2 separate regions of the Homo sapiens genome follow, and region 1 is linked to region 2. Evidence: promoter capture Hi-C in human tissues and cell types (Jung and others, 2019). All regions are on one chromosome and are shown on one strand. Each heading gives the region's core, a stretch centred on a gene start or on the middle of the fragment in contact. The rest is flanking DNA. Distances are from core to core; before and after follow the strand shown. Region 1 holds the start of NUDT9 (nudix hydrolase 9). Region 2 holds the start of SPP1 (secreted phosphoprotein 1).

The links. The method cuts DNA at HindIII sites, captures the fragments that hold promoters and counts their contacts. A contact is called where the count stands out against the background at its distance.
Region 1: a contact is called between the fragment with the promoter of NUDT9 here and the fragment with the promoter of SPP1 in region 2, in 2 of the 25 tissues and cell types used here (adrenal gland and heart left ventricle).

The regions. Positions count from the first base shown.
Region 1 is chr4:87,421,223-87,428,205 of GRCh38, reverse strand. NUDT9 (nudix hydrolase 9) reads right to left here and starts at 5,633. Exons shown (of 8, transcript NM_024047.5): 1 at 5,194-5,633. The coding sequence starts at 5,300. RefSeq lists enhancers at 3,262-3,763, 3,764-4,267, 4,811-5,745, 5,815-5,864. The HindIII fragment of the contact is 9,950 bases long and covers 1-6,983 here.
Region 2 is chr4:87,974,234-87,980,899 of GRCh38, reverse strand. SPP1 (secreted phosphoprotein 1) reads right to left here and starts at 5,186. Exons shown (of 7, transcript NM_001040058.2): 1 at 5,100-5,186; 2 at 3,951-4,018; 3 at 3,803-3,841; 4 at 774-854; 5 at 466-507. The coding sequence starts at 4,004. RefSeq lists cis regulatory regions at 5,191-5,200, 5,235-5,244, 5,419-5,434, 5,872-5,880, 5,947-5,955 and 1 more, enhancers at 5,213-5,283, 5,046-5,545, 5,908-5,928 and promoters at 5,100-5,313, 5,103-6,190, 5,190-6,666. The HindIII fragment of the contact is 7,576 bases long and covers 485-6,666 here.

The sequences.
Region 1 (6,983 bases), core at 4,384-6,883, 550 kb after region 2:
TTCATTTTACACTCACTTTACATCTGCAAAGTGTGGTAAAACACCCAAAAATGAGGGAAAACCTAACTAATAAAGAAGTTAATATCCCCAGACGGGCTGAAAACTAGTGTAACGTGAGCGAGTATTTGATTTGTGACTAACTTTACTAAAAGCAGTAGGTTCATTCACTTTCATATTATGATTATGACAACTTTCTTGCCTCAGCTGCCACAGTTTAGGAAACCTACACAATGAATATTCTGAAAATAAAGTCTCCCTCACTCACCTTAAACCCATACTCAATAAAAAATGAATACATATATGAAACACATTTATCAAAATTAGCAAACAGACTTCAGGTGTTTTAAAAAGCAAAATTTTAACATATGGAACCCTAATCTCTAATTGAACCCTATCACAAAATGAGTTATGTTTCATGGTTTGGGAGTAGGGCAAGAAAAAAGTTAAGGCCATTAATTAAATACCAAACAGGAAACACTAATGCTGTTCCACTCCATCCCACCCACGTACCAAAAATGTTTAAATAACTTAAGGCTCTTTGTTCCCTGATTTAGCAATAAAATGTTTATGGAATTCCACAAATCTACCTACTTGACAAGACAGATTTACACACTGGATTATTTACTTTTCTAAAACAAATTTAATTGTGCAAAAATTCAGGCTATACATCTTATCACATCAAGAAGTGCTAACACTGCTATCTATATATGCTATTTAAATGTGATACACTGTAAGGTACCAGAAAAAAGAATACTTGTAATACACACATATACAGCCTTGACCTTTGTATTGTATTATTGAACAAGTGCAAGAAATATATTTGGCCTAGCAAATGGGAACTAAGTAGCTGATAAAGTCCATTTACATGGCAAAAACCAATTCTTAAGACTGGCAAACTTTTAAAAATGCAATACTGACGTGGTGCTTTGAAATAAAATCTGCAACAATCATTGTCATAATCACACCTAAATGTATATAGTGATTGCTATGTGCAAGACAGTGTTCTAAGCACTGTAAATTAACTCACTTGATCCTCACAACTGAGTTCAGGTACTTTTTTTTTTTTTAACTTTTTTTTTTTTTTTTGAGACAAGGCCTCACTCTGTTACCCAGGCTGGCATGCATTGGTACAATCATGGCTCACTGCAATCTCGACCTCCCAGGCTCAAGCAATCCTCCTACCTCAGCCTCCTGAGTAGGTGGGACTATAGGCATATGCTACCACACCTGGCTTTTTTTTTTTTTGGTTTAGTTTTTTGTTTTTTTTTTTGGCAAGGGAGTGGTTTGGTAAATCAGGTAGGCTGAGCGACTCCCAATTTTGTTTATTTTTTGTCAAGATGGGGTCTCACTCTATGTTGCCCAGGCTGGTCCTGAACTCCTAGGCTCAAGCAATCTTCCTGCCTCGGACTTCCAAAGTGCTGAGATTACAGGTGTGAGCCTCCACACCAGGCCATATTATCCTTTTTCAATTTTTTTTTTTATAAATAAGAACATTAAGGCCAGGCGCAGTGGCTCACGCCTGTAATCCCAGCACTTTGGGAGGCCGAGGCAGGCGATCGCAAGGTCAGGAGTTCAAGAACAGCCTGGCCAACACAGTGAAACCCCGTCTCTACTAAAAATACAAAAAAATTAGCTAGGCATGGTGGCAGACGCCTGTAATCCTAGCTACTCACTAGGCTGAGGCAGGAGAATCGCTTGAACCCTGGAGGCACAAGTTGCAGAGAGCCAAGATTACACCACTGCACACCAGCTGGGGCGACAGTGCGAGACTCTGTCTCAAAAAAAAAAAAGGAAATAAGAACATTAAGACCCAGAGAGGTAAATAAGTTTACCAAGGTCACACAATTGAGAGTAGAAATCAGGATCCAAACCTAGGCAAGCTGTCTTAGAATTCCAGGCTCTTAACACTATGTTTTACTATCTCTATTTCATTTTTGGTTCATTCATATGTTTTATGCATTCACAGGAATAAAACAATATTCTACACACATCACCAGTAGATCCTTCTGGAAGATTTGTATGTTGTGGTATGTAAAAGCATTCACTACATCTTTGTAATATACTACCTTTTTTCTAGAAAATGTACATTTGATGACTGGGAGCAGTGTCTCACACCTACAATCCCAGAACTTTAGGAGGCCAAGGCAGGAGGATCACTTGAGCCCAATAGTTTGAGACCAGCCTGGGCAACATAGGGAGACCCATCTCTACAAACAATAAATAAATTTTTAATTAGCCAGGCCTGGTAGTGCGCACCGGTAGTACCAGATACTCAGGATGCTGAGCTGGGACAATCACTGAGCCCAGGAGGTTGAGACTGCAGTGAGTCATGATCACACCACTGCACTCCAGCCTAGGTGACAGAGCAATTAAAAAAGAAAATGAACATTGGAAACCTTCTAGTAATCACAAAAACTAAGTGCAAAACTGTCACTTTCTGGGTTTTTCCAAATTATCAAAGACTGGTAAAATTCTTTTTTTTTTTTTTTTTTTCAAAGAGACAGGGTCTTGGCCAGGCGTGGGGGCTCACACCTGTATTCACCAGCACTTTGAGAGGCCAAGGCAGACAGATTGCCTGAGGTCAGGAGTTCGAAACCAGCCTGGCCAAAATGGTAAAACCCCATCTCTACTAAAAATATAAAACTTAGCCAGGCATGGTGATGGGCGCCTGTAATCCTAGCTACTAGGGAGGCTGGGGCAGGAGAATCACTAGAACCTGGGAGGCGGAGGTTGCAATGAGCCAAGATCACGCCACCGCACTCCAGCCTTGGCAACGAGAGCAAGACTCCATCTCAAAAAAAAAAAAAAAAAAAAGGAAAAGAACACTAGGGACACGGTCTTGCTGTGCCACTCAGGCTGGAATGCAGTGATGCGATCATAGCTTACCACAGCCTCAAACTCAACTCCTGAGCTCAAGCAATCCTACTGATCACTTAGTAGTCTCTGAGCCTACTCTGATCCTACTGATAGTGAGGACTACACATGCATGCCACCAGGCCCAGTTTTTTTTTTTTAGAGACAAGGGTCTTGCTAAGTTGCCTAGACTGGTCTCAAACTCCTGGCCTCACACGATCCTCCTGCCTCAGCCTTCCAAAGCACTGGGATTACAGGTGTTAGCCACTGTGCCTGGCCATAAAATTCTTTTTTTGTTTTTCTTGAGACATTGTATCACTCTGTCACCCAGAATGGAATGCAGTGGCATGATCTCAGCTCACTGCAACCTCCACCTCCCCGGTTCAAGCTATTCTGCCACATTAGTTACCAGGTACTTGGCACATTTGTTAACTGTTGGCTTTTTCTTTCAAGTCAGTACAGTCTCTGGTTCTGGATATACCTGCCTCATGTAGGGTTCCCAGAGTTACAAAAACGAAGAATAACTGTCAAGCAACTTTACACTGTTCTGCTGGCATCTAACAAAAAGAGCATTAGAGATTTCCAGAGAGCACACACGTGTATTCCTTCCTTCCTCAAATCCCACTAAAAGAAGATAAAGATAGATAAAGGGAAATAAAATCCGTACCAGGAGAAGGAATAAATGCCACCAGTGAATGACAGATGGTAACCAACTTCAGGAAAATGAAAAGTTGTTGGAATATTGACCTACAAACCAGAGTAGGACAAAGTAAAATAAGAATATGCACCAAGGCCGGGCGCGGTGGCTCACGCCTGTAATCCCAGCACTTTGGGAGGCCGAGACGGGCGGATCACGAGGTCAAGAGTTCAAGACCAGATCAGCCTAACCAAGATGGTGAAACCCTGTCTCTACTAAAAATACAAAAAAAATTAGCCGGGCGTGCGCGCGCCAGTAATCTCAGCTACTCAAGAGGCTGAGGCAGAAGAATCGCTTGAACCCAGGAGGCGGAAGTTGCAGTGAGCCGAGATCGCGCCACTGCGCTCCAGCCTGGGCGACAGAGCGAAACTCCTTCTCAAAAAAAAAAAAAAAAAAAAAAACGCATTAGGGAGAAATGCTATTCCTACAAGCTGAGCCGAGCTAGAGGTTTCAAGCTTGAAGTCAGTGGGCCCAAGGATCATAAACTGGCAGCGCGACAATAACCATGGAAATCACTCAGTCCTCCTCCCTCCCCAATCTCCAAGCAAAAAGTCCAAAATAGTTATGTTTGTCTCCAAGATAAAATCAAAAGTTTTTTAGAAATGAAGGGGTAGGACCCCTACTGTGAATACTGGTGTTAAGAGTACACAGCAGAAACTTAGGCTTAATAATTTTACAGTTCACACGGAGGAAATAAACAGCTATACTCAGCAGAGAAGTTGCTCCACCACTACTGCAAAGCCTGAAGCAAAAGGCAGGTTCCCAGTCTACCCATCTGGTACCTGCTCACATGCCCTCAACTGAAACCTTCCTATCTAGGCAACCTGGTACAGAGCCAAAAGTCAATTAGCGACCCATGTACTGAAAACAAGACCTATTACTCATATTAATCAAAATATAGACAGATAACCAGTGCCCATCACATGTTCGAGAAAAAGCAACAGAAGGAAACAGGACCAAAAAGACACAGAACAATTGACCAACAGTAAGTAAATTATTTAGGAAATAGATTTTTCTAATTATCATCTTTGTAGATTCAAGACTTTTAATATCTATAAAATAAGAAAAGGCTGCTGCACCTAGGACCCTGTGTTTACTAACTCAAAGAATAAAAACTGGAGAAGGGAAGAACAGAAGGAGGCAGTGTAAGACACCATAAATCCCTAAATTTAACCACAATAGACAAATTATTAAAAAAAAGGAGGTAGATAGTAAATATAATATATTGTCCACCCTGGAAAGGGGACAGGGGGAATAGTGATTTTACTTTTCATTTTACATTTTCAAGTTGTTTTAACTATGTACATGTATTAATACTAATAATAATGTTTTAAGTATTAACCATAAAAAAATGGCACGGGACACCACCACCCCAAACAATTGCTATTTAAACTCTCTCGTGATACTAACAATGATTTACAGAGAATGGCAAATTTCAAAATCAGAAGTCAAGAAGGGTCCCTGCCACTCGTTTTCCTCAAAAGGCAGATAAAATATTTTAGAGCCTTTTTGAAAACTTGTATATGACTATAAAAACCCGAGAGGCAAAGCAAAGCCTACAGAATACGCCAGAAAAAAAAGCTGCTTCCCACCCCCAACTCAAGGTCTAGGGCAAAGGAGCCGGTAGTAGGAGGGTGGAATACCTGAACGCCTGGATGCCGCGGCAGCGCGAGGACCTGATAGTCACAGAGGCCAAGGCCAGAGAGAGAGACACCGCGGCTAAAGCCTTTCCCAGGAGGCGTCCCGCCATGAGCGCCCCGAGGGCGGCTTTGCGATGCTAGGTCGCTCTTAGTTGGTGCCTCCGCCTCCCCACACCCCACAGCTCCGAGTCCCGGCCGCGGGTATCTGATGGGCACTAGGACCTGTCTGCCGTTGGGTTCCCGAACGGGAGTAGCTGTGCCTATCTATAAATCACAGATCAAGAGCCCTCCCACGATAAGAGTCCACCGCTTTCCCCAGTGCATCGAGAAAAATCCAGACCAGCACGTGACGCCGAAGCCTCCAGCGCCAGCTGCCTGGGGAAACCGCGGCCACGAACCTCGTAACTTTCTCTCTGCGTAATGGCGCTTTACGGCCGCGCCGCAAAGCAAAGGTCGTGCGTTGCCGGCTTGGTAGCGCCTTCCTTCTCCGACTTCCCAGACTTCCCAGTCTGCGCAGGCTTACTTGGGGACGCAGGGAACTACCAAGAAAGTGTCAGAGGAAAGGAAAGGTGAAACAGACGAGGAACTGGAACGGGAATAAGTGGGAAAGAAGCCAAGGGGTTTGAGAGAGACTTGCTGCCCTGGGTTTTTGGTTTTTGTTTTTTGAGACAAGAGTCTGGCTCTGTCGCCCAGGCTGCAGTGCAGGGGCGCGATTTCAGCTCATTGCCGCCTCAACCTCCTGGGCTTAAGCGAGTCTCTTGTCTCAGCCCCCGACGTAGCTGGGACTACAGGCACACACCGCCATACCTGGCTAATTTTTGTATGTTTTGTAGCGACAGATTTTTGCCATGTTGCCCAGGCTGGTCTCCAACTCTCAAGCTCAAATAATCCAACTGTTTGGGCCTCCCACAGTGCTGAGGTTACAGGCCTCAGCCAACGCGCCTGGCCCTGCTCTGGTTTTTTTAGGGAGTAAGTTGTTGCGGAAGGACGCAGGTCTTAGCCATATTTTTGAATAATACTTCGTTATGGGAATGAAACCGCCTTTGCAAAATTATGACTGATTTGGGAGGCCGAGGCGGGATCACTTGCAGTCAGGAGTTCAAGACCAGCCTGGCCAACGTGGTGAAACCTCGTCTCTACTAAAAATACAAAAATTAGCTGGGCATGGTGGTAAACGCGCCTGTAGTCCCAGCTGCTCAGGAGGATGAAGCAGGAGAATCGCTTGAACCCGGGAGGTGGAGGTTGCAGTGAGCCAACGTCGCACCACTGCACTCCACCCTGGGCGACAAGAGTGAAACTACGTATCAAAAAAAAAAAGAAAAAACCTCTGCTCCCTGAATGCTCAGGGAGACTGATTTGAGTAATAATAGAACTCCGGTCTCACACAGCTGGCTCTGCATGAATTACTCTTTCTCTATTGCAATTCCCCTGTCTTGATGAATCAGCTCTGTCTAGGAAGCGGGAAAGGTGAACCCCTTGGGCGGTTACAGCAAGAGGAGATAGTCCAGAGACTCAGCCCTCGTATCTTGAAGGGTTTCTTGGTTTTTTGTTTTTGTTTTCTTAACCAAGTTGTCTGCTCCAATTGCTGGATTTCATTCACAAGGCTTTGCTAGGACCAGTTGTGGCCCTTGGAAACTCGTGGAGGAGAAAAGCTGTGAAAATAGGCACACATGCTGGAGGAGGAACAGAGGGCAACACACATAATACTGGATAATAAACTTGAGAGGCAAAAATTAAACAAACCGACAAACAAAGTTGGAAACCCAGACTGTCCAAAGCAGCTTGTAATCAGG
Region 2 (6,666 bases), core at 3,937-6,436:
CTAACTTGCTTTAATATTCTTAGTATATTCAAATTGAATCTTAAGGAAAATAAATTTACTCTTTGCTTAGCAAATATATGAATGATCCTAATAAAAAGAATAGTTGTCAAATAAACTATTTTATTAGGAAAGAAAACTTTCCTAAAGGCAAAATCTTAGCTTTGATATGCATTAATTAGATGCTTATTAGATATTAGATATCTACAAAATACCTTAAATAAATTGCAAGCAGATTAATGTTTCAAATAACAGGCATTAATAAACATCTTCTGTAATGCTAAACTTATCCGAGGAAACCTAGTATTTCTGATATTTAGTAAATACATGTTTTATTTATGAGCAAGTTTTAGACTGCCAATTAGCTGGAAAACTTGCTAATGAAATTTCATCAGAAGAGAATCCAGGCAATGCCTTCTTTCATCTCTTCAAGGCATGATGGGCCTCTGATTGAAAATGAGAACTTACCTCTTGTTTAAAGTCATTGGTTTCTTCAGAGGACACAGCATTCTGAAGAAGGAATGGCACGTGTTAGTGCGCATCACACATGCCTAGCTTTTTTATTCAAAAGTTAACCTTTTTAATCCAAAGCAGTTTTTATTTTTCAGCCTCATCTGTGGATGGCTTAACACAGAGAGAAGCCAACATGGCAGATCAGTCAATGTCCTAAGCACATGTTTGCCAGCAGGCAGGCAGGATTCATCTGAGCAGCCCAAATGGCCTGAGTGTGGCTATCTTTCATCACTGTAGTTTAATTATGAGAAGTTTAAAAATACCTGTGGGGCTAGGAGATTCTGCTTCTGAGATGGGTCAGGGTTTAGCCATGTGGCCACAGCATCTGGGTATTTGTTGTAAAGCTACAAAAAAGTTGCATGTTTATCATTATTAAAAAAAGAAATGTAGGGATGAATGGAAAAAACAACCATTCTTCACTAGTCTTGATGGAAGCATATAGTCACCCGGACCCTTAGGTACCTTTTTGTAATTTTTTTTTTTTTGCAGATTCATTTAACAAACTCTTATGTAGCACTTACTGTGGGCTAGGCACTCTTTCAAATTGCTTTACAAATATGAACTCATTTGATCCTTTCATTCCCCTATGAGATAGGTATCATTATTATTCCCACCTTACAGATCAGAAAACTCAGCCACAGTGCAGTTAAGTGGTAGGAAATGGCAGAGCCAGGCAGGGTTCAAACGCAGGCAAACTAGCTCTTAACACCGAACTTCACACTGTGCTTTCTTTTTGTATGTTTGCTGGCTGAATTTTCCTCTCAGATAAAGCACATCTAAACCAGAAGTGACCTTAATTACTGTTAATCTTCATTGTGTCCAGTCCATGGAACAAGAAGGAACTCTCTAAGACTGTGCTAATTCAGTATCCTCTAACCACATGGAGCTATTTAAATTTAAGTTAATTAAAATGAAATGGCTAGGCACGGTGGCTCACCCCTGTAATCCCAGCACTTTGGGAGGCCGAGGCAGGCGGATCACGAGGTCAGGAGATCGAGAACATCCTGGCTAACACAGTGAAACCCCGTTTCTACTAAAAAAAATAAAAATAAAAAAAAATAGCCGGGCGTGGTGGCAGGCACCTGTACCCCCAGCTACTGGGGAGGCTGAGGCAAGAGAATGGCGTGAACCCAGGAGGCAGAGCTTGCAGTGAGCCAAGATTGCGCCACTGCACTCCAGCCTGGGTGACAGAGCAAGACTCCATCTCAAAAAAAAAAAAAAAAAAAAAGAAGATAAAAATTCAGTTCCTCAGTTGCACTAGCCCACATTTTGAGTGCTCAATAGCCATATGTATCTTATCAGCCAATGTAGAAATATAATATTAAAATCATTGCACAAAAGTTCTATTGCTGTAAGGTGCCAAAGATGTAAATGAAATGGATTTTTCTTTAGCCAAGTTATTTATCTGGAAAATACTGATAATATGCTACTGCAAAGGAGTGGAAATTGCTCTGAGTAAGTATCATCTGATCTGCTGAATCATCCAGGGCCAATCATTACATTTCCCTGTCACTGAGAATGAGAACTCTGGGGGTTGCACAGAGTTCCTTCTGCAGCCACCTAAGGGGTGGATGAGTAGAGAGAGAACCAGTCAGAAGTACTTGGAGTTTCTCTCATGGCTGGCTCTAACCAGAGGAGCTTAGTATTGGGCTTCTCCGAAAGGTTTTGCTGAAAGAAGGGGTTCCTTGCTTTAAGAAGATGAAAAAACAGCCGGGCGCAGTGGCTCACGCCTGTAATCCCAGCACTTTGGGAGGCCAAGGAGGGTGGATCACGAGGTCAGGAGATGGAGACCATCCTGGCTAACACGGTGAAACCCCGTCTCTACTAAAAATACAAAAAATTATCCGGGCGTGGTGGCGGGCGCCTGTAGTCCCAGCTACTCAGGAGAATGGGGTGAACCTGGGAGGCGGAGCTTGCAGTGAGCCGAGATCACACCACTGCACTCCAGCCTGGGCGACGGAGCGAGACTCCGTCTCAAAAAAAAAAAAAAAAAAAAAAAAAGAAGGCGGAAAAACAGTGAGACCAGATGAGTTCAGAGTTTTTCTCTTCACTTTTTCATATCTATCTATCTATTCTCATGACACATGTAATACAGGCTCAGAGAGAATGGATGTATAAGTTACATTTATAATTTTTAAAAACTAATATGAAGAAAATAAAGGTAAGCAAAATGAATAGACTAAAAACCACCCAGTAATCCTAACACTCACAGATAACCAGTGTGTATTTTCAGGCATATATCCTTAGAGACTTCCCCAATTTTTTACTAGCTTTAAGTTTCTGGGATTCTAGAAGGCTGAGCCTTGAGCTCTTCACGTATTTCTTAAATTGTTATAGCTCCACGTGCCTTCTAAAATGCATCTTTGCCATATTTTCGTTTATTAAAAAGACGCTAATTCTTGCCTCAAATAGTATGACCTCTATCTTCTCTGGAGATGTTAATTTTTCTGGTTTATTATTAGGATTCAACACCTGTATTTTCAAATCAGTTGAAAAACAGACACACACACCCCTCCACACACAAACGAACACAGAATACTTCTTTTAATGTCTTCATTAAGCAGTCTAATTGCAGTGACCCCCAAGGCAGCTCTATTTTGGCCTTTATTCTGTTCAACTGGAATTGAACTCTGTGTGCCTTTTTGTCCAAGCTTCTGGGGACAATGCCCATTTGTTGTTTGGCTGGCACAGTTTCATCTGTTGTGGAGGGGTAGGTACATCTTTAGTGCTGGTCAAATAATTATAATAAAGAGTTTGGTTGGTCTTATGTTTGGTTAGAAAATGTGATCTAACATCAGCTGACAATCACAATAGATACAAACAGCACACATAGACTTTCTTTTCACAATGGGCTTCTCAGCTAATATCTCAGACAATATTGTGAATATTATGGTCATACAAACAGTTCTGACTAATATCCAATGTGAATTTTAAACTTAGCAATCCACTAAACAAAGCAAAAGCTGGAATTTTCTGCTTTTAGATCAGTATGTGGACTAATGGAAAAAAAGTCACACAACTTCATATAACTTATCTTACATGCGATAACTCATCATACATGCCTAGATATTATTATATTTAAAATATCTGGGTTGGTTTTATAAACTTATATTTATTAAAAACTATACTGTGCTTGGTACTGGCCTAGATTCATAGCAGGCAGTCAATCAATACTTGTAAACCAATGGATTTGACTGAGAAGATAAGTAATATCGCAGCAAATACGTTTCTTGCACCTCTCGCCATAATTGAGTAAATGATTTAACTATATAAAAACATAAAAGATGCTTACCTGCTTTTCCTCAGAACTTCCAGAATCAGCCTGTTTAACCTTAGAAACAGAAAAGATGAAGAAAGATTACAAGAATGTCCTCCTAGCACATGGAAGCACACAATTCAGTTATTTTCAGGAATTTTCTTTAAGATGCAACTGTACTCACTGGTATGGCACAGGTGATGCCTAGGAGGCAAAAGCAAATCACTGCAATTCTCATGGTAGTGAGTTTTCCTGCAAAATATTTCATAAGGAATAGCTGACATCTTCATAGGTTACAACAGTGATACCTTTTTATACTACCACATTACAAAATGATCACAAATAAAATATATTTTCTATAGAATCTTTTCTACTTCTTAGAGATGCCTTTTCTTTTTAGTATTATAGTCTTTCAAGTTAATATTTATATTGCCACCTATTATCCATCTTTCACTATTAGGCAAGGGAAAGGGAAATTTTGCAAGTCTGTATTTATTCAACTTTAAAATTTAGAGTTCCAGAAATTATACCATTACTACCTTATATATCTAGCTCTCTAAACCTACAAACAGATCAACAGTAACTTAATTATATTAATAAGCTAGTATGGGAATATTTTTTAGAGAAGAAAAAACTCACAGAAAAAAATGAAAAAAATTTGCTTTATCCATTTTTCCAACATGTACTTTAAATGTGACTTTTAGCTTAATTATCAAGTAGGTGCTACTTAGGTGAAATCAAACTATCTCTGAAATTTGTTATTTAAGTAAGATGTTCTAAAAATTTGAAATTCAAAGGAAAACATTGAAAATAGCCAACAGCTTTTCTATTTGTAATAATAAGCCTACACAGTGTCATACAGGTATCTTGGTGAATATTTTAACAGCTAAATTTAGCAGTGGCATATTCAGAAAGGGTTTTCTTCCCCTTAAAAGTGAGATACATCATTTAAAAAATAGCATTGTAATTGGTTTAATTAGCATAAAAGATCCCTTTTCTTTTAAATTCCTGCACAGTCACCCACTGAAAATTATATAGGTATAATTATTCCAAAGGGGAATTTAATTTTACTATTTTCTGATTAGCATCGGTGGTTTCCGTTCTTTTGAGGACCCAGTGGAAGTATTTTTAAGTTTTAAATTTGATTGGCATTCAAAATATCTAGACACCTTTGTTCCAGGAGACCTGCAATGTATCTAATCTGCTTATTAAAAAGGCTAGAAAATTTAAGTCTGTTTAACAGCATTACAATTAAAAATATTTTTCCTTAGAATTTGGACTTCCCCATGAAATTCAGCTGAATGCACAACCCAGTAGCAAACTGAAGCTGTACCTTGGTCGGCGTTTGGCTGAGAAGGCTGCAACTGGCCTGAGACGAGTCTGGTCCCGACGATGCTGTGCTCTGCCTCCTCCTGCTGCTGCTGACAACCAAGCCCTCCCAGAATTTAAATGCTGCTGCAGACATCCTCCACCAACACAGGGAGGCGGAGAGATTGTGTCATGAGGTTTTCTGCCACTGCCCAGCCCACCTGCTCCCACACTTCCCCCTCTGGTTTTGTGGTTAAAACAAAAAAAAACAAAAACGCACACACACAATCTACAGTTAAAACATTACTTATGTACAATATCATTAACTAGCTTTTTCATTTACGGGATGGGCATTCAGCATCCAGGAAGAGCACTTAGGGATCCCATGAAAAAGGGAGAAAGTAGGGAAAAACATTAATGTAAAATTAAATAGAATGGATTTTTGTTTCTTTCGGTTTAAGTAACATAAAGGTAATATCTGCAACCACTCTTGCCTGTATGATTGTACTTATTGAAGAGCCAGAAGGCTATTGTTCAAGCCTGCAAGGAGTTCAGAAAACTTGCCTCTGTCCTTTACTACTCAAGCTTAGCTTTGTGATTTCGAGTATGCAGTAGCTTGTTACTTAGACAAATGGCACTAGTGACATTAAAATATAAAATTCTATATGAAATAGAAGAATGGTAATTTATTCTAGATGTTGCAGAAGTAAAGCAGTTTCTGACTGAGAGCAGGATGACTGCTTGAGAGGGCTGCTTCAGGAGCCAGACCGTGGTTCTGAATTCCGCTGTGTCACTGCTGACCTGTGCAACCTTGGGCAAATCGCCCAGCCTACCTATCCTTGTTCCCTCATCCATGAAATGCAATACTATTACCTAGGTCATGGGGTTTTTGAGGGGTTTAAATGAATTAGTATGTTAAACTAGCAATGCTTAGCACATATTAGATGCAAATGCTCTGCGTATCTTAAGGACTATATGTGTGTTAACTATTATGAAATTTTTAAGAGGGGCAGGCAGTCACGAATTGTAATGTCCTTTAAAAGAACAGGTTATTAAAATGAGAGTAGACGTAAGATCTTTAAATTGTATGCATCAATAAGGAAATTTTGCACATTTCTAAAGGAACAGATTCGATTTTGGAATCATCTTTTTTTCTAGTTTTTCTCCCAAGGTATGTAAAGTAGGCCACTTAAAAAGAAAAACATTTTTAAAAATTTCTGTATTAAAAAACACTTTACTAGGTATTTAAAAGGTGTCTGAATGAAAGAAAATTACAGGGAAAGTCCGAATATTAGAGCAGAATTCAGGGATAGCAGAGCTCTGGGTCCTTTTAAAATATTTAATATTGCCTTGAGATTACTTATCTTCATTTGCTTTCTCAGTTGTGAAATGCAGATTGCACTATTTATTTACCTTACACCTTTATTGTTAAGACTTGTGTGTAATTGAGATGAAAAATAAATGGTCCTATTTATTATTAGGTTGCTGCAAAAGTAATTGTGGTTTTTATTAGTCCTAAAGTGTCAGCTTCCTTTTGCCAAATATTACTTTTAATATAAATATAGATTAAATAATGTCTTGCAGTGATAGTG